7 separate regions of the Homo sapiens genome follow, and regions 2, 3, 4, 5, 6 and 7 are each linked to region 1. Evidence: promoter capture Hi-C in 16 types of primary human blood cells and fetal thymus (Javierre and others, 2016). All regions are on one chromosome and are shown on one strand. The core of a region is centred on a gene start or on the middle of the fragment in contact, and the rest is flanking DNA. Distances in the headings are between cores, read along the strand shown. Region 1 holds the start of CNOT1 (CCR4-NOT transcription complex subunit 1). Region 2 overlaps CFAP20 (cilia and flagella associated protein 20). Region 3 overlaps CSNK2A2 (casein kinase 2 alpha 2). Region 4 holds the start of CSNK2A2 (casein kinase 2 alpha 2). Region 5 overlaps LOC105371293 (a long non-coding RNA gene). Region 6 overlaps PRSS54 (serine protease 54). Region 7 has its middle 32 kb from the start of PRSS54.

What was found. The method cuts DNA at HindIII sites, captures the fragments that hold promoters and counts their contacts. A CHiCAGO score of 5 or more calls a contact.
Region 2: a fragment that was not itself captured here is called in contact with the fragment with the promoter of CNOT1 in region 1 in 1 of 17 cell types (monocytes); the score reaches 6.0 in monocytes.
Region 3: a fragment that was not itself captured here is called in contact with the fragment with the promoter of CNOT1 in region 1 in 3 of 17 cell types (M2 macrophages, total CD8 T cells and M1 macrophages); the score reaches 6.7 in M2 macrophages.
Region 4: a contact is called between the fragment with the promoter of CSNK2A2 here and the fragment with the promoter of CNOT1 in region 1, in 7 of 17 cell types (total CD8 T cells, naive CD4 T cells, monocytes and 4 more). The highest score is 7.1, in total CD8 T cells.
Region 5: a contact is called between a fragment that was not itself captured here and the fragment with the promoter of CNOT1 in region 1, in 2 of 17 cell types (total B cells and non-activated CD4 T cells). The highest score is 5.4, in total B cells.
Region 6: a contact is called between a fragment that was not itself captured here and the fragment with the promoter of CNOT1 in region 1, in 1 of 17 cell types (fetal thymus). The highest score is 5.1, in fetal thymus.
Region 7: a contact is called between a fragment that was not itself captured here and the fragment with the promoter of CNOT1 in region 1, in 1 of 17 cell types (M1 macrophages). The highest score is 8.6, in M1 macrophages.

What each region holds. Positions count from the first base shown.
Region 1 is chr16:58,628,279-58,631,217 of GRCh38, forward strand. It overlaps CNOT1 (CCR4-NOT transcription complex subunit 1), which reads right to left and starts at 1,548. Exons shown (of 49, transcript NM_016284.5): 1 at 1,450-1,548. RefSeq lists enhancers at 625-1,301, 1,302-1,977, 1,426-1,635, 1,926-2,415. The HindIII fragment of the contact is 12,291 bases long and covers 546-2,939 here.
Region 2 is chr16:58,121,239-58,124,177 of GRCh38, forward strand. All of the region lies in intron 1 of CFAP20 (cilia and flagella associated protein 20), which reads right to left. Among named protein-coding and RNA genes, the nearest start is that of CFAP20, 6.7 kb to the right of the region's middle. The HindIII fragment of the contact is 2,148 bases long and covers 441-2,588 here.
Region 3 is chr16:58,174,094-58,177,032 of GRCh38, forward strand. CSNK2A2 (casein kinase 2 alpha 2) reads right to left here. Exons shown (of 12, transcript NM_001896.4): 5 at 358-417. Among named protein-coding and RNA genes, the nearest start is that of CSNK2A2, 23 kb to the right of the region's middle. The HindIII fragment of the contact is 709 bases long and covers 1,177-1,885 here.
Region 4 is chr16:58,196,553-58,199,491 of GRCh38, forward strand. CSNK2A2 (casein kinase 2 alpha 2) reads right to left here and starts at 1,554. Exons shown (of 12, transcript NM_001896.4): 1 at 1,081-1,554; 2 at 181-292. The coding sequence starts at 1,184. RefSeq lists silencers at 988-1,057, 1,458-1,727, 1,778-1,907. The HindIII fragment of the contact is 2,827 bases long and covers 85-2,911 here.
Region 5 is chr16:58,241,577-58,244,515 of GRCh38, forward strand. It overlaps LOC105371293 (a long non-coding RNA gene), which reads right to left. Exons shown (of 4, transcript XR_933630.2): 3 at 1,194-1,333. Among named protein-coding and RNA genes, the nearest start is that of CFAP263, 6.9 kb to the right of the region's middle. RefSeq lists an enhancer at 1,932-1,991. The HindIII fragment of the contact is 467 bases long and covers 1,321-1,787 here.
Region 6 is chr16:58,283,809-58,286,747 of GRCh38, forward strand. PRSS54 (serine protease 54) reads right to left here. Exons shown (of 7, transcript NM_001305173.2): 5 at 2,129-2,387; 6 at 782-913. CFAP263 (cilia and flagella associated protein 263) reads left to right here. Exons shown (of 9, transcript NM_014157.4): 9 at 1-28. Among named protein-coding and RNA genes, the nearest start is that of PRSS54, 9.7 kb to the right of the region's middle. The HindIII fragment of the contact is 1,874 bases long and covers 559-2,432 here.
Region 7 is chr16:58,325,591-58,328,529 of GRCh38, forward strand. No RefSeq gene overlaps it. Among named protein-coding and RNA genes, the nearest start is that of PRSS54, 32 kb to the left of the region's middle. The HindIII fragment of the contact is 4,072 bases long and covers 1-2,939 here.

The DNA.
Region 1 (2,939 bases), core at 298-2,797:
GACAAGGTAACAATTTGCAGTATCCTAAAACATAATTATTTAAACTGTTACCACATGTCTTCTTAATAGCTAAAATACTCTGCTGCCAATCTTTAAAAGGGTAGGAATACCAACCGGGACCACAGATCACTTAAGTATTAAACCCAAGTACCTATAGAAAAAAATTGTTCTTAATCTGTTTGACCTTCCTCCTAATATTTTACTTGCCTTCCCTCATTTTTTTAATCCATGTATTCCCTATTCCTATCAAAGGGGCTGTCATAAGGAAAACGTTCGGCATTGTTTCAAACAGTATAATTATATTCACTCAATCACTGACTTAAAAAAAAAAAAAAACCCAAGTAGTCACAGGCTATCGAATTGTAGAGAAATCGGCAGGGTAGGTTAAGCATTGTTACTCAGTTTTCAGGAAGAAAACAGACTTTATTAGAGTCCTAAGAAATGTGACATTTGATTAACTTCATGGGAAAAGTTTGTCATAAAGTTTATTTTAAATACAACATTTTCAAACGCACAGATGTCAAGCATTCTTTTTTAATCTACAAAGCTTACTCCTCGGGGAGTTAGTATCTGTGAGCCCTCTTGGGTGAATTCTGCAAAGGAGGTGGTACTGAAAAAGTATTATTTGTGTTTGGCCTTAAGTACCTCTACAAGACCTGCCGTGGATCTTATCAGCCTTGAGGCCTACAAGTGCTCAGCTCACTAGCGGGACACTTGTCCTGGGTGAGCAGGACCGCCACTACTGCAGACACCGGACCGAGTAGGTGGGGGCCAACTTCAAAGAAAGTGTGAGCGCCCAGGCGCGCGAGTGGAACAAAACCTGTAGCAAGTAATAAGGAAGTGCTTGCTCCCGCCCGCCCTTCCCATCCGGGGACACCCGAAACCTGGGGGGCTTTGACAACGTGCTGGGGGCGTAAGACGGGGAGAGTGGCAGCTCCGAGTACACGGAGAAGAACTGGAAACATGCAAAAACTCCAAACACGGTCCCCCCCGCCAGAAGCCCTAGGCCTCGGAAGCCGATGCCCACTGCAACCATCAGGGAGCAGAGACAGAAACAGTAGTTAAGGAGGTCGTGGAGGTCTCAGAGGGGTGCAACCCGCGCGAAGCCAGGCCCAGCGACACGAACTGCCGCCGCTGCCGCCCCCTGAGCCTCCAGGCCCGGGACAGAGACCACCATGGGTCTCACCCCGCGCTCTACCCTCCGCTTCCTGGAGCCTTCTCGCTGGCCTCTCATCTTCAGAGCGCGAAGCCTCCGAGAGCCGTGTGGAGAAGAGTCCGCCCTCTCCCGCCTCGTCCCACTTCCCCGTCCCGGCTGCCTCTCACTCCCTAGAGCTCCGGGAAACGCTTCCAGTGGCCCCAGGTCCACCCCTGTTCCTCCTCCCACCGGCTCTCGCGTTCCCAAGCTGACACCGCCACCCTACCCTAGCCCCTGACGCCAACCCGCCTCACCTCAGGCGGCTCCGGCAGCGCTGGACACAGGAAACTCCTGGGTCCCCGACTCCGGCTCTCCTCGACCCCCTCTTCGGTTAACTCCGCTTGTTTCTCTACAAAATGGCGCCGGAGGTCGCGCGCTCACGTCGCGGCCTTTCCCCTCCCCGTTCCCATTTCATCATTCGCTGCCCGCCCGAGGAGGGATGGCCCCAGAGCCAGCCAATGGCCGCGCCCCGCCTGTGGCTTCTACCCAATCACCGACAGGTGCCCGCGGATTTAAACCAATCACACTCTATCACTTGCAGAAGTCGAGGAAGAAATCAGGCTCCTGCTAGCAACTACCAATCCGGCCTCCTACTTCGCGGACTTTGGCCAATTGCCGCTCACCAGGCCCAGGGGACCGGAGTCAGAGCCCTCGCGCCTGCGCTCGAGGCGAGGGCCAATAGGGAGAGGCTGATAACTTCGATTTGGGGCTTCACGTACTTCCCACCTGCCCTGGAGGGCTGCGACCAGTGGGGCTTGGCATTGCCTTTGAGGAACAATAAATTATGGAAGGGGCCCATAACTCCTCGCCACCCTGCGCGGGAACTACTTTGAATTACAGTGAAACAGCTTTCCTCCACTTTCCTTCCTCTTTCGAAATGTCACGGTCCAGTAGACTTCGGGGATTCCCAACCGAAACAATCCCCTCCCCTAGTGTCCCTTTGGCGGGGAACGCCAGCCAGAAAGCAAGCCAGGTTGTGACTAGAGTTGGGGCGCTTTGCATCCTGGGATGTGTAGTCGCGCTCCTCTACCCCGTTCCCATCGCAGAAGTAATGCGTCTTCGTTCGTCGCTGCGCCCTAGAAGGAGCAGTGCATGCTGGGGGTTGTAGTCACCCAGGTGGCCACCTTGTCCTCGCTTGCTTCGCTTTGGTCAAGGGAACTTTCTGTTTTAGTTCTGTCTATTGAAGAAGGGACACCTTCCAGAGACGCCTTCCAGAGACGTAGGAGACGCAAGTTCTCTTCCTGGCTTAAGTCCTAGAAGCCGTCTAAGAAAGGATACCCATGTCCTTTGCTCTCAAGAGAAAAAGCATAGAAACATATTTTGCTATGGTTTGTTTGTTAACTATGATAGTTGGTAAGATTTTATACTCACCTGTACCCAAAAGAGAAAGGATTGGGAAGGAAGTGTTGACTGGTTAGCTCTATTACCTTTTGAAATTAAGGCCGGGCGCGGTGGCTCACGCTTGTAATACCAGCTCTTTGGGAGGCTGAGGCGGGTGGATCACGACGTCAGGTGATCGAGACCATCCTGGCTAACACGGTGAAACCCCATCTCTACTAAGATACAAAAAATTAGCCGGGCGTGGTGGCGCACACCTGTAATCCCAGCTACTTAGGAGGCTGAGGCAGGAGAATCGCTTGAACCCGGGAGGCGTGGGTTGCAGTGAGCAGAGATCGCGCCACTGCACTCCAGCCTGAGCGACAGAGCAAAACTCTGTCTCAAAAAAAAAAAAAAAAAAAAAAAG
Region 2 (2,939 bases), core at 265-2,764, 510 kb before region 1:
TTCTGAAAACAGCATACAGGAAGATACATGTCTCAGAAAGTATCAACGTCCTTTCCTTAGCTCCTTCCAGTTCAGAGGTCACTGGGCAGGCGTGGCTTTGGGATGAAGATAAAATGAACTGCTCAGCATTTATTGCTCATGGCGGAAGCAGGTTTTAACATGTTCTGTCCTTCTCTAGATCACAAAGAGCCGACTGTTTTTGATTTGTTAATTCTTTTTCATTCATGACACATTCCCACTATCAAAGTGTGGCCTATGAGTGCTTTATTCCTCAAAAAAAATAAAATAAAAATAAAAATCTAAAGCCAATATTGTTTTATTTCATTAATTTCCCCTCCCCTGCCCATGAGCTGGAGATACTCAAAGAGCTTCAGAATCCAGTTACTGGCAATTACAGATCATAATGGTTCTCTGCCTCTGCAGACAACAGAGGTGACCAAAGCTTCAGGCCAGTCTTACAATCACTCTCCCAGGCTTTCCATGGTTGCTAGGGCAACTAATAAAGAACACCGATTTCTCTCCCTCCCCGCAATGTAAGCCTCAGGGAGGTGGGTCAAGCTGAGGGAAAAAAAAAATACTACTACTGGGATAGGGAGGGAGCTGGTGGATGCTGTATATTTCTATGACTGCTTTAAAAATAACATGAGTTGTATCCATTCCCTCCCCCAACTTTCATTTTTCTGGCCCCACCCACTCAGCCTGGCAGGCAGCTGAACCCTCAGCCATCTGGCATCCTAGCTTTAATGACACATGCTCTAATTTACATTAAACCATTAGAGCTGTCCATTTCAGCAGGAAAGTTCCTGCACTGGGTTAAGGGCTGGGTTCCCAGACAGAAATTAGGCAGAGGGAGACCCCTGTGGGGAGAACTGAGCATAGCTCCGACTCAGACTCCCAGGCTCCAAGGGTCAAAGGCTTCACTCCCTTCGCTGTACTTGACAGGGGCTATCCAGACAGCAGACAAGCAACTCTGGGCATACACCAACAACCCCTAAGTCAGCGTAAGGACAATTATGTGCACAGCTAAGAAAAGGCAAGTGTAATTAAAACCCATGTCTTCGGACGGGCGCGGTGGCTCACGCCTGTAATCCCAGCACTTTTGGAGGCTGAGGTGGGAGGATCACCTGAGATCAGGAGTTTGAGACCAGCCTGGGCAACATGTGAAACCCCATCTCTACTAAAAATACAAAAAAATTAGCTGGGTGTGGTAGCGCATGCCTGTAATCCCAGCTACTCAGGAGGCTGAGGCAGGAGAATTGCTTGAATCCAGAAAGAGGAGGTTGCAGTAAGCTGAGATTGTGCCATTGCACTCCAGCCTGGGTGACAGAGCGAGACTCTGTTTCAAAAAAAAAGAAAAACAAAACCAAAAAACCATGTCTTCGTTCAATTACAGTAAAACCTGACTCAGAATAATGAAGAACATTCTCCAAGTCAGAAAAAAAGTTTTACCACCTTTATGTCCAAATACACTCAATTCTACTACTGAAAACAGCACCAATTTAATTTTTATCAACAAGGCATGCTAACTAAAAACTAGAATGTAGGAAATTTTTTCTGAAGAGAGACTTTATTTTTAAAATTAGAACAGGACATGGGAATCTAACACTATCCAGCAACAGCAGAAGACTCTGGTCTAATATTTAGTCTTGGAGTAGGGGAGAAACAGCAGCAGCTGAGAGAAAGACAGGGTGACAGGAAAGACAGACAAAGGCGTTTTCATGAATTAATGCAATCTCATCTCATGTACTTTTAGGATACTATCTTGTTTTTTTTGAGACAAAGTTTTGCTTTTGTTGCCCAGGCTGGAGTGCAATGGCACCATCTCGGCTCACCGCAACCTCCACCTCCCGGGTTCAAGTGATTCTCCTGCCTCAGCCTCCCGAGTAGCTGGGATTACAGGCATGTGCCACCATGCCCGGCTAACTTTTGTATTTTTAGTAGAGACGGGATTTCTTCATGTTGGTCAGGCTGGTCTTGAACTCCTGACCTCAGCTCGCCTTGGCCTCCCAAAGTGCTAGGATTACAGGCGTGAGCCACTGCGCCCAGCCAGGATTACTACCATTAAGACCGAAAATTGGCTGGGCGCAGTGGCTCACGCCTGTAATCCCAACACTTTGGGAGGCCAAGGCAGGCGGATCACGAGGTCAGGAGATCGAGACCATCCTGGCTAACACGGTGAAAACCTATCTTTACTAAAAATGCAAAAAATTAGCTGGGCGTGGTGGCGGGCGCCTGTAGTCCCAGCTACTCCGGAGGCTGAGGCAGGAGAATGGCGTGAACCCAGGTGGTGGAGCCTGCAGTGAGCCGAGATCGTGCCACTGCACTCCAGCCTGGGGGACAGAGCAAGACTCTGTCTCAAAAAAAAAAAAAAAAAAAAAAAAAAAAAAAAAAGACTGAAAATTACAGCATGTTTTACACAAGTATAAGTGGGAACAGAACCTCCTGGTATTTTCCTTACAACCAGAAGTAATGTTTACATTAAACGTAAGAGTCTTTTAATAAATATAAGATTTGCTGGTCCCAGATGTCAAGGTAACATTAAAGAAACCCCTAATTTCTTCTAAGCTGTTGGTTTAGAAACTTACAAAAGCTTCTATCAGGAAACTGTATAGCCAGGAATACAGACCTTAAGAAGCTAATAATGTCAAGTGTGATAAGAAAGAAGTAAATTAACTTACCCTGAAGAGTTAAGGAAGGTCACTCTGAGAAAGGCCTTTGAACTGTGACTGGAGCCTAATGAAAAGATGGGAGTGAGGCTTGTGGGGTGGTGAGGGGCAGCGCCCAGCAGAAGGACCAGGAAGTGCAAAAGCTTGAAGGTGAGAGAACAGGACTTCCTTCAATTCAGTAGGAGGCTACTACTAAGAGGGGGAACCGGGTGAAGTGAGTCCCGCCTGGAGAACAAGTGAAGCAGGTGCCAGAGCATGGGTTATGTGGCCTTA
Region 3 (2,939 bases), core at 281-2,780, 450 kb before region 1:
TCAATTATAAGAAACAATAATCATTTTTTAAAAGTCATTAAGTTTGGGATGATTTGTTACATTCACAGTAGGTATTAATAAAGCAGCAAAGAGAAAACATATGGACCAACAAGAGCTATGGGAGGTTCTAAGGTATAATGTCCCTGGTACCCCTTGACTTGGCCACTTTTTTCCCAGTTCCACTGGAAAGTTTCTATGTGAAGATTCCTCGATGGAGGCCTCAATATAAGTTTAAAAACTTCACTAAATCCTCTGGGTATCAAGAAACATTCTGCTTAAGTTCTCTTTGTTCTCTCAAAAACTTATCTTTTAATGAACAGGCCTGAAAAAAATTAATGGTTTATGAACACCACTTACTTTAAGTAGTTCATACATATAAAACCGGATATCAAAGTCTGTCAGGATCTGGTAGAGTTGCTGAAACAGATTCCAGAAAACAGAAAGTTAATTTAGTCTCACTGCATCTTGTCATCCTAAGTGCAGGCCATTCTCTAAGCTTATTTGATACTTAAGTGACTAAGGAATCCCATGACTTTTTTACTACCTGATCTGAAATAAATGGGAAGACTAAAGATGAAGGTTTTATATTTTAATCATCAGAAGAGAAGAAAAAAAAAAATGGAAGGAATTCCAAGGGAGAAAAACATTTAAGCCAACTCAGATCTTTCCTATTTAATGCTCTGTGATTTTGCCAATTACAATTATTAACCACAATTACACCATTGTGAAGTCTAAGTTGTCTGTCTTCACATTCTTACCGAACATCAAGAAAACTAACCCCACTGTAACACCACAGTATACTCTAGAGAAGTGAGTTCTGAGTGGATGGCAGAGCTCTGAAGAACTTCATGGGCTACTGTGGTAAAACAGTGGCGACACAGGCTGTTCTCAAAAAAGAAAAATAAGGAAAAAGGAGGTGCTATAGCATTTGCAGATGGCAAGAGCTTACAAAAAAATCTATACCCTCTGCTCCCCGGAAACCAATTCCAGACTGGAAAAAAAGAACATTTCACAGGCAACACCTGACGTCTTAGGAGTGAAAAAAGACAGGGGTATCAAAAATGATCACTGGCCAAACTGATAGGTAAATGGAAGTTTTCATTATTGGTAATCCAGAGACCCACTCGCTGGGAGTTTTTAAAAAATTTCTAAGAGTCAGAATACATTAATGCTACAAGCTTCATTAAAGGCATCATAAACCCTTGTCAGGAACTCTCATTATCTTTGATATCCAATCAAATCCATGTAAATCTGTTTTCCCATCAATCCAAGCCATGCTTTCTATAAAATTAAGAAACACACCTTTATTAAACTTCTCTTGTTCTTCTATTGAAAGAGAGACTCAAGCAATGTAGGGAATCTCTCCAGGGAACACAGAACAGTGTATATAATGTGTCTCTGTAATAAGGGGGAAAATAAAAACTATACATCCATATTTTCTGTATCTGCAAAAATGATACAGAAGTAATAAAAACTGGTTTCACGTATATATGTGTAAAGGAATAGGCAGCTGGAATACAGGGGAATAAAAGAGACTTTTCACTGTCTACCATTTTATATTTTTGATCCACATATAATGTTCAAAAAAATTTAATAAAAAAATCAAATTTGCCAAGAACCAAATTTAACATTTTCTAAGAATACCAGGTCTTTGCTTTCTCAAGTTTCCCCCTTTAGGTAAGAGTAATTCCCCCTGCCAGCTTAGGAAAAATATTTGATTTCATCAACCTCAGGGCAGCGCAGGGAACGAAATGCACAGGCCAGTACATGGTGTTGTGGGGTTGGGTGGCTGGCCCTGGCTACAGCTGACCCCCATTCAGGCAGAACAACACCAACAAGCCACCACTTCTGCTCAGGAGAGCTTCAGCTACATAACACACACCCAAGCTTTTTGTTCTTCTCCCAGCTCTGCTGCAAGAAGGCTTCTTAGCCAGGACTTGGCTGCACACTGACAGCTTGAATGTAAAGACAGGCTTAAGATGCCATCTCTTGGGTGTCAAAGCAGCTCCTCCTCTGTGAGTTAAGGAAATCACTCACAGAGACTAGGCTAAATTGAACTTCAAGTCAATAAATACGCTATGAAAGAGAAAAGATCTAATTTTCTAACCCTTAGAGGGCTGGAATATTTTATTTCCAGAAAACTAACATGGGCTATCTCATTAGGACTTTTATCTGTGGAAGGCCTCCCTCATCATGTGGTACCTACACCATGCATCTGTATAAATGGTGTAAGCCATAAAAATAAATGTCTCTGGACTGCCAACACAGTATTTCTAGCTACAAAAACCATTAACAATTTAATTCAAAGACACCAGTTGTACACTAGTGTTTAGGACTAAGATATTACAAAGTCCCAAGTGACTGGTTGCCATTCACCCTCACTTCTCAGGATCTCCGGGTAGGAGGAGACCAAACTACATCTGTAACATTTAACCGCCTGGGCCCAAAATTCAAGACTATGCAGGGTCCACAGTCTGGCTTCCTCCGACTTTTGTAGCTCTGTTCTTCACTGTACCCCCAGGAGTCCACAGCTCTGACAAAACAAGCCCGTGTTTGCTGCCTCCACTCTTCCCTCTCTAGCCCTACTCCACCTTAGCCTGTAAAGCCAAAACCAACCTGTCTGCTTTCTACAGAGCTGACAATGATACCTCCCTTCTCTATCTCCATGCCACTGACTCTCCAATGTGGCTGTGCACAGGACACCATTAAGAACACAATGTCCCCAGAGTTAACATTCCTCACACAGGGACTGGTGGTAACCTCAGGTTCTCAAGGTGACTCCTCACTCTGCTGCGTGCTTTGTCCAGACCCCAAGAGTCTCATGCCAACATTCCCTGTGCTTCGTGGCATACACAACAGGGAGAAATGGGTACAGTGGCTGGTGGCAGAGTCATCAAATTTGGTGATAAAAGATCTCTGAACTCTCCCCACCACCCAAG
Region 4 (2,939 bases), core at 304-2,803, 430 kb before region 1:
GGCTGCAGTGAACTATGATCTGCACTCCAGCCTGGGTGACAGAGTGAGACTCTGACTCTAAACAAATAAATTAAATTAAATTCAAGCTTGCATTGCCCATTATAGAATGTGACTGGGGTACCTTACAAACTTTTGCCCTGTGGGGAGGAAAATGTTACATACCACTCATAGGACACTCACCTTCAGGATTTTTACAACCACTCTCTCATTGTTGGTGATATTAATGGCCTCAAATACTTCACTATATTTTCCCCGACCAAGTTTTCGAACCAGTTGGTAATCATCTTGATTACTGTAAAAGGAAGACACACACATAAATGCCAGGACTGGGGGTTAACCAAGCCTATGCCCACTGTACACGTCATTCAGCCGCTTCCACCAGGCAAACACTTGGAAGTGTCTATACATCACGTCACAACTCATTCCCTAAATGAAAGCCACGACATAATCTTGGCTCCCTTCACTCTGCAGAGCTCCTAACCTAATTGGTCTCTCCTAACTTGGGAAGATGGGGCAGGAAGGCAACGCTCTGAGCCAATCCAGAGGGGCGAGCAAAGCACCCGTCCTGAAGGCCTAGAGGGTGCCCCCTGTGCCCCGCGGCTCCCCAGCACCTGCTTCTCGTTTCACATCTTCAAGGTAGACAATGCCTGTTTTAAAAATCTGGACGTCTTTAAGAAATTTCCTCCCACCACCTCATCTCAGAAAACCTAAAAGGCAGGGCATTTTAATAGCTCCAAAGGACAGCTGTTGACTTCCCACCCCAGTGGAAACCCAGAAGTGTGAGGAAGGGCAGCTCCCTCACTTCCACCCGGCGTCGATCCCTGGACCCCACACTTCTCCCCGAGTAAAAAAGCATTCCTTGGGGGAAAGGGGTGCGCAAAGCGGGGAGAAAGGGACGAAACGGGGGTAAAGGGGAGGGAAGAGGAAGACGAGGACATGTGCGAGAGCGGGACCTCTGCCTCCCTGCGGGCCCGCGGAGGGGTCGGCGGGAGACACCACCGGGCCCGAGTGCGGTTCGCAGGGGGTGGCCGGGCGGGGGCAGGGATCAGCGGGCCCGGCGGGGGGCGGCGACGGCTTTACCCCCAGCTCGGGACGTGAGCCTCGTAGTCCCAGTACTCGCGGCTCCTCAGACTGTTCACCTCGGCGTAGACCCGGGCCCTGCTGCCCGCGGCCGGGCCGGGCATGGCGGGCGGGACCGGGGGGCGGCGCGGGGCGCAGAGGGTGGCGGCGGCGGCGCGGCGGGGGACGCGGGGCGTCGGGCGGAGGAGGCAGCGGGCCGCCGGGCGCTGGAGGAGGAGGAGGAGGAGCGCGGCGGCGGGCGGCCGCGCCAGGCCGGGCCCGCGGGGGCGGGCGGGCTGGGGGCGCGGGGGGCGCCGGCCGAGCCGGCCCGGCCCTGGAGCGGCCGGCGGGGCGGCGGGGCGGGCGGCGCTCGCGCTCCGCGGCGGTCTCCGCTCGGCTCGCGGCCCCCAGGAGGCGGCGGCGGCGGCACCGGCAGCGGCAGCCACCGGCCGGGAAAGGGGCAGCGGCGGCGGCAGCGGAGAAGAAGGAGGAGAGGAGGAGGAGGCGGAGGAAACCCGGAAAAGGGGCCGCGCTCACTGGGAGCGGCCGCCGCCCGGCCTGGGGCCGCCCAGGCTCACAGCGCCCCCTGGAGCGCGGGGGGACCCGCCGGGCGGTGCCGGCCCCGCCCCGGCCCCGCCCCGGCACGCCCCGCCGCCTACCTCGCGCCCTCCGCCACCCTCGCCCTCCCGCCGCCACAGGTCGGACTGTCCAAATCGCCTCACCCTCGGGCTGGCTTGACTTCACGCCACAGGAGCCCCCCCTTCCACTGGCCGTTGCCCTAGAGCCCTCGCCCGCGACTCCCGACCCTTTCACTGTCCTTGGAGACCCTATCCCCAGCCCTGCACTCACCCAGCTTTTACCCACCCAACACATCCCATACTGACCCTATTCTGACCCTCCTGTCACCCAAACTGTCAAGTCCCTCCCCAGGGCCTCACTCAAACCTCAGAACCTCCCCCACCTCAATACTTCTCCCTTCCCCCGAGACATACCCCTCCTTCCCCCTCTGGACCCTGCCCTGTTAGGGTAGACTCCTCAGTCCCCAAGGCTTCCTACCCCCGTCATTCAGAGTGCTCCTCACAAAACCTTTCTACACTTCCCCCAAATGCCCTTCCAGAGCCTTCCCTGAATATCCACTTTGGTCACTTGGTTAAGCTGGCATTGACCAGGTTGTGCCACTGCAAAGTTACAATTTTTCCCTTTGTGATTAATAAGTCATTTGTGGGGAGAGACTTTGAGAGTGTAAATCTCCTGTTTGTGTTTAGGAGGAGGGAGAGCAGGAGAATTGCAAATCCGACCTGAAGGGACAGGCTGGGTTGGGGATGTGCCCAGAGTAGGTGGTCAACTGAGCTGGCCTGGCTTCCAGTGCTGCCTGCAGCCTTGAACACCCTTCTCCTTTGATCTTCTAGGCCTTTCTTCTGTCTTCCTTTCCCATCCCTCATCCTTTATCGACAGCACCTCTGCACCCAGTACAGGTTGCTTTCATTCCAGTCCCTTTTCACATTCTGTTTTCTGGATGAAACCCTGGGCCTTCCTGCTTGACACAGCTAAGAGCACAGTCTGTGGAGTCAGATCTATCCAGCACTGCTACTTAGAAGCTGTGTGACCTTAGGGCAATTACTCAACCTCTCTGTGTCACAGATTCTACAGCATAAAACCAGTAATAACGCTCACTTCACAGGGCTGCAAGGAGAATTAAACAAGGTAAACCATGTGAAACACTTAGGATGGTGTTCACTATTAGGATAGCATGTGTTCAATATGATTATTTCCAGGCCTAGGGCCTTTCTCTGCTCATTCCTCCCTCCCTGAGACCACCGTGCATCCGTCTTTTGGTTCCTTCTATCCTCCAAGCTTAACTAGGAGCCACCCCCAACCCC
Region 5 (2,939 bases), core at 304-2,803, 390 kb before region 1:
ATTTTATAATTCCACTTTATCTCCTTTGTTGACTTAGCTGTATTAGTTTCATAGGCTATTGTGATATATTGCCACAAACTTTGTGGCTTAAAACAACACAAATTTATTCTCTTATAGTTCCAGAGGCCAGAAGTCCAAAATGGGTCTCACTCAGCAGGGCTGTATTTTCTCTAGAGGCTTAAGGGGAGAATTCTCCAGTTTTTAGAGCTTCATTCCTTGCATTCCTTGGCTCCTAGGCCCTCTCCTCCATCTTCAAAGTCCACAGCATAGCATCTTCAAGTCTCTCTCTGCTGAGGTTGTCACATTGCTTTCTCTCTTCTGTAGTAGAATCTCCTTCTGCCTCCCTCTTGTAAGGACACTTGTGATTGCTTTTAGGGCCCACTTACATAATCCAGGATAACCACTCCATTTTAAGACCTTTAACTTAATCGCTAAAATTGTTAAGACCTTTTCCCCCTTTACAAGGTAATATTCATAGGTTCCAATGATTAGAACCTGGATATCTTTGCGGGCCATTGTTCTGTCTACCACATTGTCTAGACATTCAGTCTAGAGTTAAAGCTACTCTTTTAGTTTTATGTCTTTGCTGTGTCATTTTTGTCATTGCTTTGGGGTTTATGGTACATTTCTTTAACTTAGTACAGTCTATCTTCAAGTGTTATTATACCACTTTATGTATAGTATAAGAACTTTATACCATCACACTCCCATTTCTCCTCTACTATCATTGTCATACATTTCACTTATAAACTCTACAATGTAAATGTTTTTTTTTTCTTTCTTTCTTTCTTTTGAGATGGAGTTTTTTGCTCTTGTCACCCTGGCTGGAATGCAATGGCCCGATCTGGGCTCACTGCAACCTCTGCCTCCTGGGTTCAAGCAATTCTCCTGCCTCAGACTCCCAAGTAGCTGAGATTACAGGTATGTGCCACCACGCCCGGCTAATTTCATATTTTTTTTAGTAGAGACAAGGTTTCACCATGTTGGTCAGGCTGATCTCAAACTCCTGACCTCAAGTGATCCACTGGCCTCTGCCTCCCAAAGTGCTGGGATTACAGGCATGAGCCACCGTGCTTAGCTACAATGTAAATGTTGTAAACTCTACAATACATAATTTTTGTTATATAAAGTTATTTATCTTTCAAAGAAAATTAAATAATGAGAGAAATATATTTACTTATCCACTTAGTTACCATTTCTAGTGCTCTTCATTTCTTTGTGTTGATCCAGATTTCCATCTGGTATCATCTTCTTTCTGCCTGAAGGACATCCTTTAACATATCTTGTATAGTGAAGCTCTTCTGGCAACAAATTCTTTCAAGCTTTTGAATATCTGAAAAAAATATTTATTTTGTCTTTATTTTTAAAAGATATTTTTGCTGTGTAAAGTATTCTAGTTTGACAGGTGTTTTTTTTTTTCTTTCAGAACTCTACCAGCTTGAATTGTTACCTACAAGAAATCTATCATTTTAATCCTTGATTCTTTGTATATACTGTGTCTTTTTTTTTTTTCCTGGCTGCTTCTAAGGTTTTCTGTTTATCCCTAGTTGTAAGCAATTTAGTTATGGTATCTTTGGTGTCATTTTCCTCATGTTTATTGTTATATGAGGTTGGTTGAACTTCTTAGATCTATAGGTTTGTAATTTTCATCAAATGTGGAAAAATTCAGCCATTATTTCTTCAAATATTTTTTCTGTCTCCTCCTCACTTCTGAAGACGAGCAGGATCAAGGAAAGACACTACAAAGGAAAATATCAAGAGAAGGCAGTACAAAGGAAAATGTACTAAGCTTCTTACATTTTAGAGATGCACATTTGCATAGTCAGGCCTTTAATCTAGGAAAATAATAACCCAGAGCTTGCTCCATGCCTGGTACCTGGTTAAATGTAATCTCAATGAACTCTTCCAACACCTTAGTGGGAATGGCTTTGGATGGATAGGAGAAGGACTGGGATGGAAAGGAATGAGTAATGATTAAAGGTACAAGCTTTCGGCTCTAGCTCTGCATGTCACCTGCTGTTTGACTGAGTAATTCACATCGCCTCTCTGGCTTTCACTTCCTCACCTATACAAATGAGGTGAGTAATAGTGTAACTGGCCAAGTCCAGCTGCTCACCGCTTGGAGGCCAAAAACACAAGAAGCAAGTTGTGGTGAAAGGAAAGCAACTTTATTCAAATGCTAGCAGTTGGGGAATGGACAGGCCCATGCCTCTGAAAGACCATTCTAACTTTTTGGGCTGAGTGAAGGGGTTTAAGAAGGAAAAAGGTGAGAGAAACGCGGGAGTGGTGCAGCAGGAGGTCTTGTTATCTTGAGTCATCGCCTGTCTGGAGGACCGGTTTGCATCATGCTGACTGCGGTAGTGGTGGGCTAACTGCTCCTAACTCCCCCTAATCAGAGGGTTCCACAGCTGGGTCTCTCTGCCTGGCTTGTTTCAAAATCGATCCCTGGAATTTCTAAGCAAGCACATAATTAGATAAGCGAGTACTGTTCATAGAAGTGGCTGGTGGGAAAAGGCAAAACAAAAAGTTTCAAAGTATGTTTCAAGGCTGGAAGCAAGAAGGGAAAAATGTTTTAAAACGCAGTTTGAGGCTGGGATACTTGGTTACAATAGTACTTATTTTACAGGGTTAGGGGACAAAGCACTCGAATGTTTGCTGTTATTACTATTATTTTTTTGTTTGCCAATATTTGAAATATCCCTCTTCCTTACTAACTCAATTCTTCCTTAACATCGATTAAAGCGATATATGTTGCTCAGCTGTGACAGACTCTACTGATTGAGGATTGAGCCAGGGTCTGTTTATTTCCTTTTTCAGATCCACGTCTCTGGAGCTATCCCTGGGATATGGAGGTTTTCAGGATTAATAACTGGATGAGATACCAGCTCAGATCAGCCTCAGTCTCCTTTTCCCATCTTGCTTTTCTCCCCTCCTCTTCT
Region 6 (2,939 bases), core at 246-2,745, 340 kb before region 1:
TTTGCAATAAAATGACTTTTAAAAAAAATTGTCTGTATATATGTATTTTTTCCCCTTGCTCTAAAAATCCTGCCTTTCTGGATCCTATGGGGAAAAAAAATTCCCCATCAGGTGTCCTGAAGGTTATTTAGAGGAGAGTGTGTGTTAAGCCTCATAGAAAAGCAATTCTAGAGCAGAGGAGATAAACACTGTCTGGATATCTGGTAGACCTAGGTCCTTGTCTTTGCTGTAACTTTTATTGACTGTGTGACCCTAGTAAGCCACACTTTCTCCAGATTTGGATATGAAGGGGCCTGAACCAGGTGTGTGTGACTTCTACACATTTTTTTTTGAGGCAGTAGGACAGCCACATCCGTACAGCCCTCATCTGGGTGGAGGGCAGGGCTTCTCAGAGAAGAAAAACTCAGTAACTGATAGCATCAGAGGGGAGTCTAGGTTCCCTAGAAGCTGAATACAGCAGCCCCACACTGTAGACCTGCTCAAAGCATATCGGCCTCTGTGGTTTGGACTCAGACTTTCAAATTTTTAGCTAGTTAAAAAGCACCTGTGACTTAGACAAGCTTCATCATGTTACACTGAAAATCGTGACTGGTTAGTTCATTCAGCAGATTTTTATTGAGCGCATACTGTCTGCCAAGTGCTATTCACTCCAGAGACAGCCACTCATCCCAAGCCCTGCCCTCACAGAGCTCCCCATCTAGGGAAGGGGAGTCCTGAGGCTCCCCTGGATGTGACCAAGGCTTACTCTCAACACTTAGCTTCTACTCCATGATGTTCTTACCAAGCAGGCAGTCTTGGTTTCCTCTTTCGTGTGGCTGCCGCATTCTGTCTTCTGGAGTTTGTATAGGGGACACATGTCAAGATCTTTCACGAAGATTTTCCTCAGGACACTCATCGTCATGTGATTTCCTGTCTGGACCATGCAACAGAGAGCCCAGGGATTATTAACGAGAAGGCAGTCCCCTATGTCAACACAACTCCCACTCATATAGCCAAACGAGAGTGAGAATTTTTTTTTTTTTTTGAGTTGGAGTCTTGTTCTGTCACGCAGGCTGGAGTACAGTGGTGTGATCTTGGCTCACTGCAACTTCTGCCTTTCGGGTTCAAGCAATTCTCCTGCCTCAGCTTCCGGAGTAGCTGGGATTATAGGCATGCACCACAACGCCCAGCTAATTTTGGTATTTTTAATAGAGATGGAGTTTCACCATGTTGGTCAGGCTGGTCTCGAACTCCTGACCTCAAGTGATCCACCTGCCTTGGCTTCCCTAAGTGCTGGGATTACAGGCATGAGCCGCTGTGCCCTGCCAGGAATGTTCTTATAAATCCCTTTTTTTCATAGAAATAAGAACCTGTGACTGAGTTTTTACTGAAAACTACCTCCACTTTGAACTTGAATGTGCAAACAGGCAGAGAACACCCTTCCTCCTCTTCTAGAGAGTATCCATTTCCTTGTTTCTTTCTTTCCCCAAAGTGAAAGAAAACAACGATGGCTTAGACAAGAGGACAATCAGCCGTAGTTCGGGGACTAACATCCCCTCACCTCTCTGTACACTTGTATTCATTCCAGGGTGTCCACTGCCTCTGTACTTCCAGTTTTGGTGTAGGGCTAGAGGGTAAAGGACCAATGTGATGTAAGAATGGCCACTGGATGGGTGCAGTGGCTCACGCCTGTAATCCCAACACTTTGGAAGGCTGAGGTGGGAGGCTTGCTTGAGCCCAGGAGTTCGATACAAGCCTGGGCAACATAGCAAGACCCCATTTCCACAAAAATAAATTTAAAACAATTAACCAGGCATGGTGACATGTGCCTGTAGTCCCAGGTACTCGGGGCTGAGGCAGGAAGATCACTTGAGCCCAGGAGTTCAAGGCTGCAGTGAGCCGTGATGGCACCACTGCATGGAAAAGACCCTGTCTCAAAAAAAAAAAAAAAAAAAAAAAGAAGAAGAAGAAGAAGAGTGGCTACAGAAAGCCCTGGGAGTCTTGACTGATTAGGTAAGGGTTTCAGCCAAACTCTAGAACCTCAAGCAAACTCCATTATTAAATTAAGATAGGCCCTAGATTGGATTATCCAGGTCACCCCCACTGCCAGCACACACGCAGCCTTCTCTGGGAGGAGGAATGCCTTAACTGCAGATGTGGGATTCCATCCTGACACCCAGCAGTTCTGCAAGACTGGTGGTGTATGCAGCATTCTGCCGAGGAAGCAGATGGACTGGACCAGGTTGCCAAAATGCATCGCTGTGTCTGTCTTCAGGAGGGCTATGTTGTTGCTCATGGAGTTGTTATCAAAGTCCTCATGGATGATGATGGTATTGACTGGATACTCTGTGTGAGCAATCTTGCTAGGATCCATGTTACTTATACCCACTATAACGACAATGTCCTTCCTGGAGAGAGAGCAAGGGAATCTTGAGAAGCCAAGACAGCAAGGAAGCTTCACGCTTCCCTGTTTTCCCATTTAAGTTTTTTCAGCCTGGAACACTCATCCAGCTCATATTTCCTGTGTTAATTCTTCCTCACCCCTTTGGACTCAAGTTTCTAGGAAATCTTTTATGAACCCCTAGGCTTGTGCCCTCTTTTGTGAGCCTGCAGAATCCTGGAGATTCTTTAATCTTAACACCATTTGCCCCACCACTAAAGAAAATCTGTTAACATGTTATTGCTGATTAATGTTTTTTCTATGAATAGTTTTTTTTTTTTTTACATATTGTAGTTTGCAAAAGTAGTAATTGCAGTTCTACCAAACATGTCATCTTGACTCCTGCTTTTAGTATTTACATTTTAAAACAGGCATCTTTCTTTATTATATATTCTGTAAATACATTTTGGAGAAATTGAAGTTCTAATGACAATAGAATTGAGTTGGATGTTTTCCCTTTCTCCTCTTGGGAATCACCCAAGAAACTATGAGAATGAGGAACAAATACAAACACCGTAAA
Region 7 (2,939 bases), core at 190-2,689, 300 kb before region 1:
GAAGCAGTGGCATATGCCTGTAATCCCAGCTACCTGGGCGGCTAAGGCAGGAGAACCACTTGAACCCGGACACGGAGGTTGCAGTAAGCTGAGATCACACCACTGCACTCCGGCCTGGGTGACAGAGTGAGACTCCATCTCAAAAAAAAAAAAATTTTAAAAAGAAACCAACACATATTTATTGTAGAAAATTTCTAAAATTCAGACAAATGTCAAGAGGAAAAGAAAAAGTACCTGAAGTCCCAATTAGGTTATTTGTTTCCTGTCTTTTTTCTGTACGTGTATTTCAAACAACTAGGATTAAGCATATAGTTTTGCGTCCTGTGCTTTTTTCCTATTAATAGTATGTTATGATCTTTTTTTCCATATTATTGTTCTTCAAAAGTACAGCTTTTAACAATGGCAGAAAATTTTACCATATAAATCTCCTATAAGTTATCTTTGTACTTTATCTCTTTTACTCTGCATTGTGGGATTAGTCATTTTTACAGCCCGTCAGCATGTCCTACATAGGCAATCTAGCTCCCCAATTTAGGAGGTAGAGTTCTTGGCATCTGTTGCACTGATCTCACTCCACTTCGGAGTCTCAGCTGAAGCCAAAACAAGAGTCCCATTTTAGCATCCTGTTCCATATGTAAAATTGGAGGGAATAACTAAGACAAATTAATAAAAATACAACAGTGGTGGTAGACTTTCACCCACTTGTTTCAGTCTTTGTTGGACTAAATAGAGAAAAGAAAGTAAGGATATTACAGAGGAGGAGAATATAATGACTAAATGTTCTGAACTGTATCCTTTGAAAAGAGTAGACTTCTTTTCAATTAAATGGAAAAAGGTATAACGATGTCCACTGATGAATGGGTAAACAAAATGTGGTATATACATACAATGGAGGCCAGAGTGGTGGTTCACACCTGTAATCCCAGCACTTTGGGAGGCCGAGGCGGGTGGATCACCTGAGCCTGGGAGGCAGAGGTTGCAGTGTGCCGAGCAACCTGGGTGCACTCCAGCCTGGGTGACAGAGCAAGATCCTCTCTCTAAATAAATAAATAATACACACAATGGAATATTATTCTGCCTTTAAAATAAAGAAATCCTGTTATGTGACAACATGGATGAACCTGGAGAACAGGATGCCAAGAGAAATAAGCGAATCACAGAAGGACAAATACATGATTCTACTTATATGGTGTCAAACTCATAGAAAGAAAGAATAAAATGGTGGTTGCCAGAGGCTGGAGGGAGGAGGGAATGGGGAGTTGCTAGTCAGTGGATATAAAATTTCAGTTATTCAAGAGGAAAAAGTTCTAGAGATCCTCTGTATAACAATGTAGCTATAAATAACAGTATTGTGTTGTACACTTTAAAATCTATTAAGAGGGTAGCTCTCATGTTAAGTGTTCTTGACACAATGAGATAAAATAAAAAGGAAAGCCCATTGTATATAAGAAATTGGAAATTGTACCGTCATATTCCTGATCATAATGCAAGAACGCAGGAAATAAGTTAAAAGTAGAAGCATTGGATGTCTTTTGTAGTTGGCAACAAATAAAATAAAATAAAAAGTAGATGCAGAAAGACGTTTGAGAATGTCAAGCCTTTCTATGGAACTGCTCTAGAGCAAAAATACATTTATAAGATATTTGGGAAATAATGCTAATAAAAACACTCCATATAAAAACTCATGGATAACACTAGAGCTGTACTCAGAGGAAAATGCCTACTCTTAAAACACTCTGGAAGTAAGAAAAATAAAATACAGCAGTCAGTTAAGTCTGCCCAAGAAGTAAGGATGAGGAACTTTGTTTTCCCTTTGAGAGCTGCCTGAGGTGAGGTGCTCATTTTGTTAAACTTCCCAGAGTGAAACACTTTAGCAAAACAATAAATATCACAACTCAAAGGCTTATTTGGAGCTCAACAAGTTAGACATAAGGTGTTTTGTTGGTTTTGTTAAAAAGCAGATATACTGAGATATAATTCACATCCCACCATACAATTTACCCACTTAAGGTGCAAAAATGTTTTTTACCATATTCACAGGTTGGTGCATCCATCACTATAACCAGTTTTAGAACATTTTTGTTTTATTTTTATTTTTATTTTTTTGAGACGGAGTTTCACTCTTGTTGCCTGGGCTGGAGTGCAGCGGCACGATCTCAGCTCACCACAACCTCTGCCTCCCCGGGTTCAAGTGATTCTCCTGCCTCAGCCTCCCGAGTAGCTGGGATTACAGGCATGCGCCACCACGCCTGGCTAATTTTGTATTTTTGATAGAGACGGGGTTTCTCGATGTTGGTCAGGCTGGTCTCAAACTCCTGACCTGAGGTGATCCGCCCATCTCAGCTTCCTGAAGTGCTGGGATTACAGGCGTGAGCCACCATGCCTGGCCAGAACATTTTTATTACCACTGAAAAAACTCCATCCCTTGGCCAGGTGGTGGCACACGCCTTTAATCCCAGCACTTTGGGAGGCTGAAGTGGGAGGATCACCTGAGGTAAGGAGTTTGAGACCAGCCTGGCCAATATGATGAAATCCCATCTCTACTAAAAAATACAAAAATTAGCTGGACATGCTGATGCATGCCTGTAGTCCCGGCTACTTGGGAGGCTGAGGTGGGAGGATCGCTTGAGCCCAGGAGGTGGAGGTTGCAGTCAGCCGAGATGGCACCACTGCACTCTAGCCTGGGCGACAGCAAGAGACTCTGTCTCAAAAAAAAAAAAAAGAAAAGAAAAAGAAAAAGAAAAGAAAAGAAAAGAAAAAATCCCATCTTCATTAACAGCCATTCCCCATTTCTCCCCATCCCCACCCCGCCGGCAACCACTAATCTGCTTTCTGCATCTGTGGATTTGCCTATTCTGGAAATTTTATATAAATGGAATCCTGTGGAGAGAGAGAATGGAGAATGACTGCTTAATGGGGTACAGAAATGATGAAAAAGT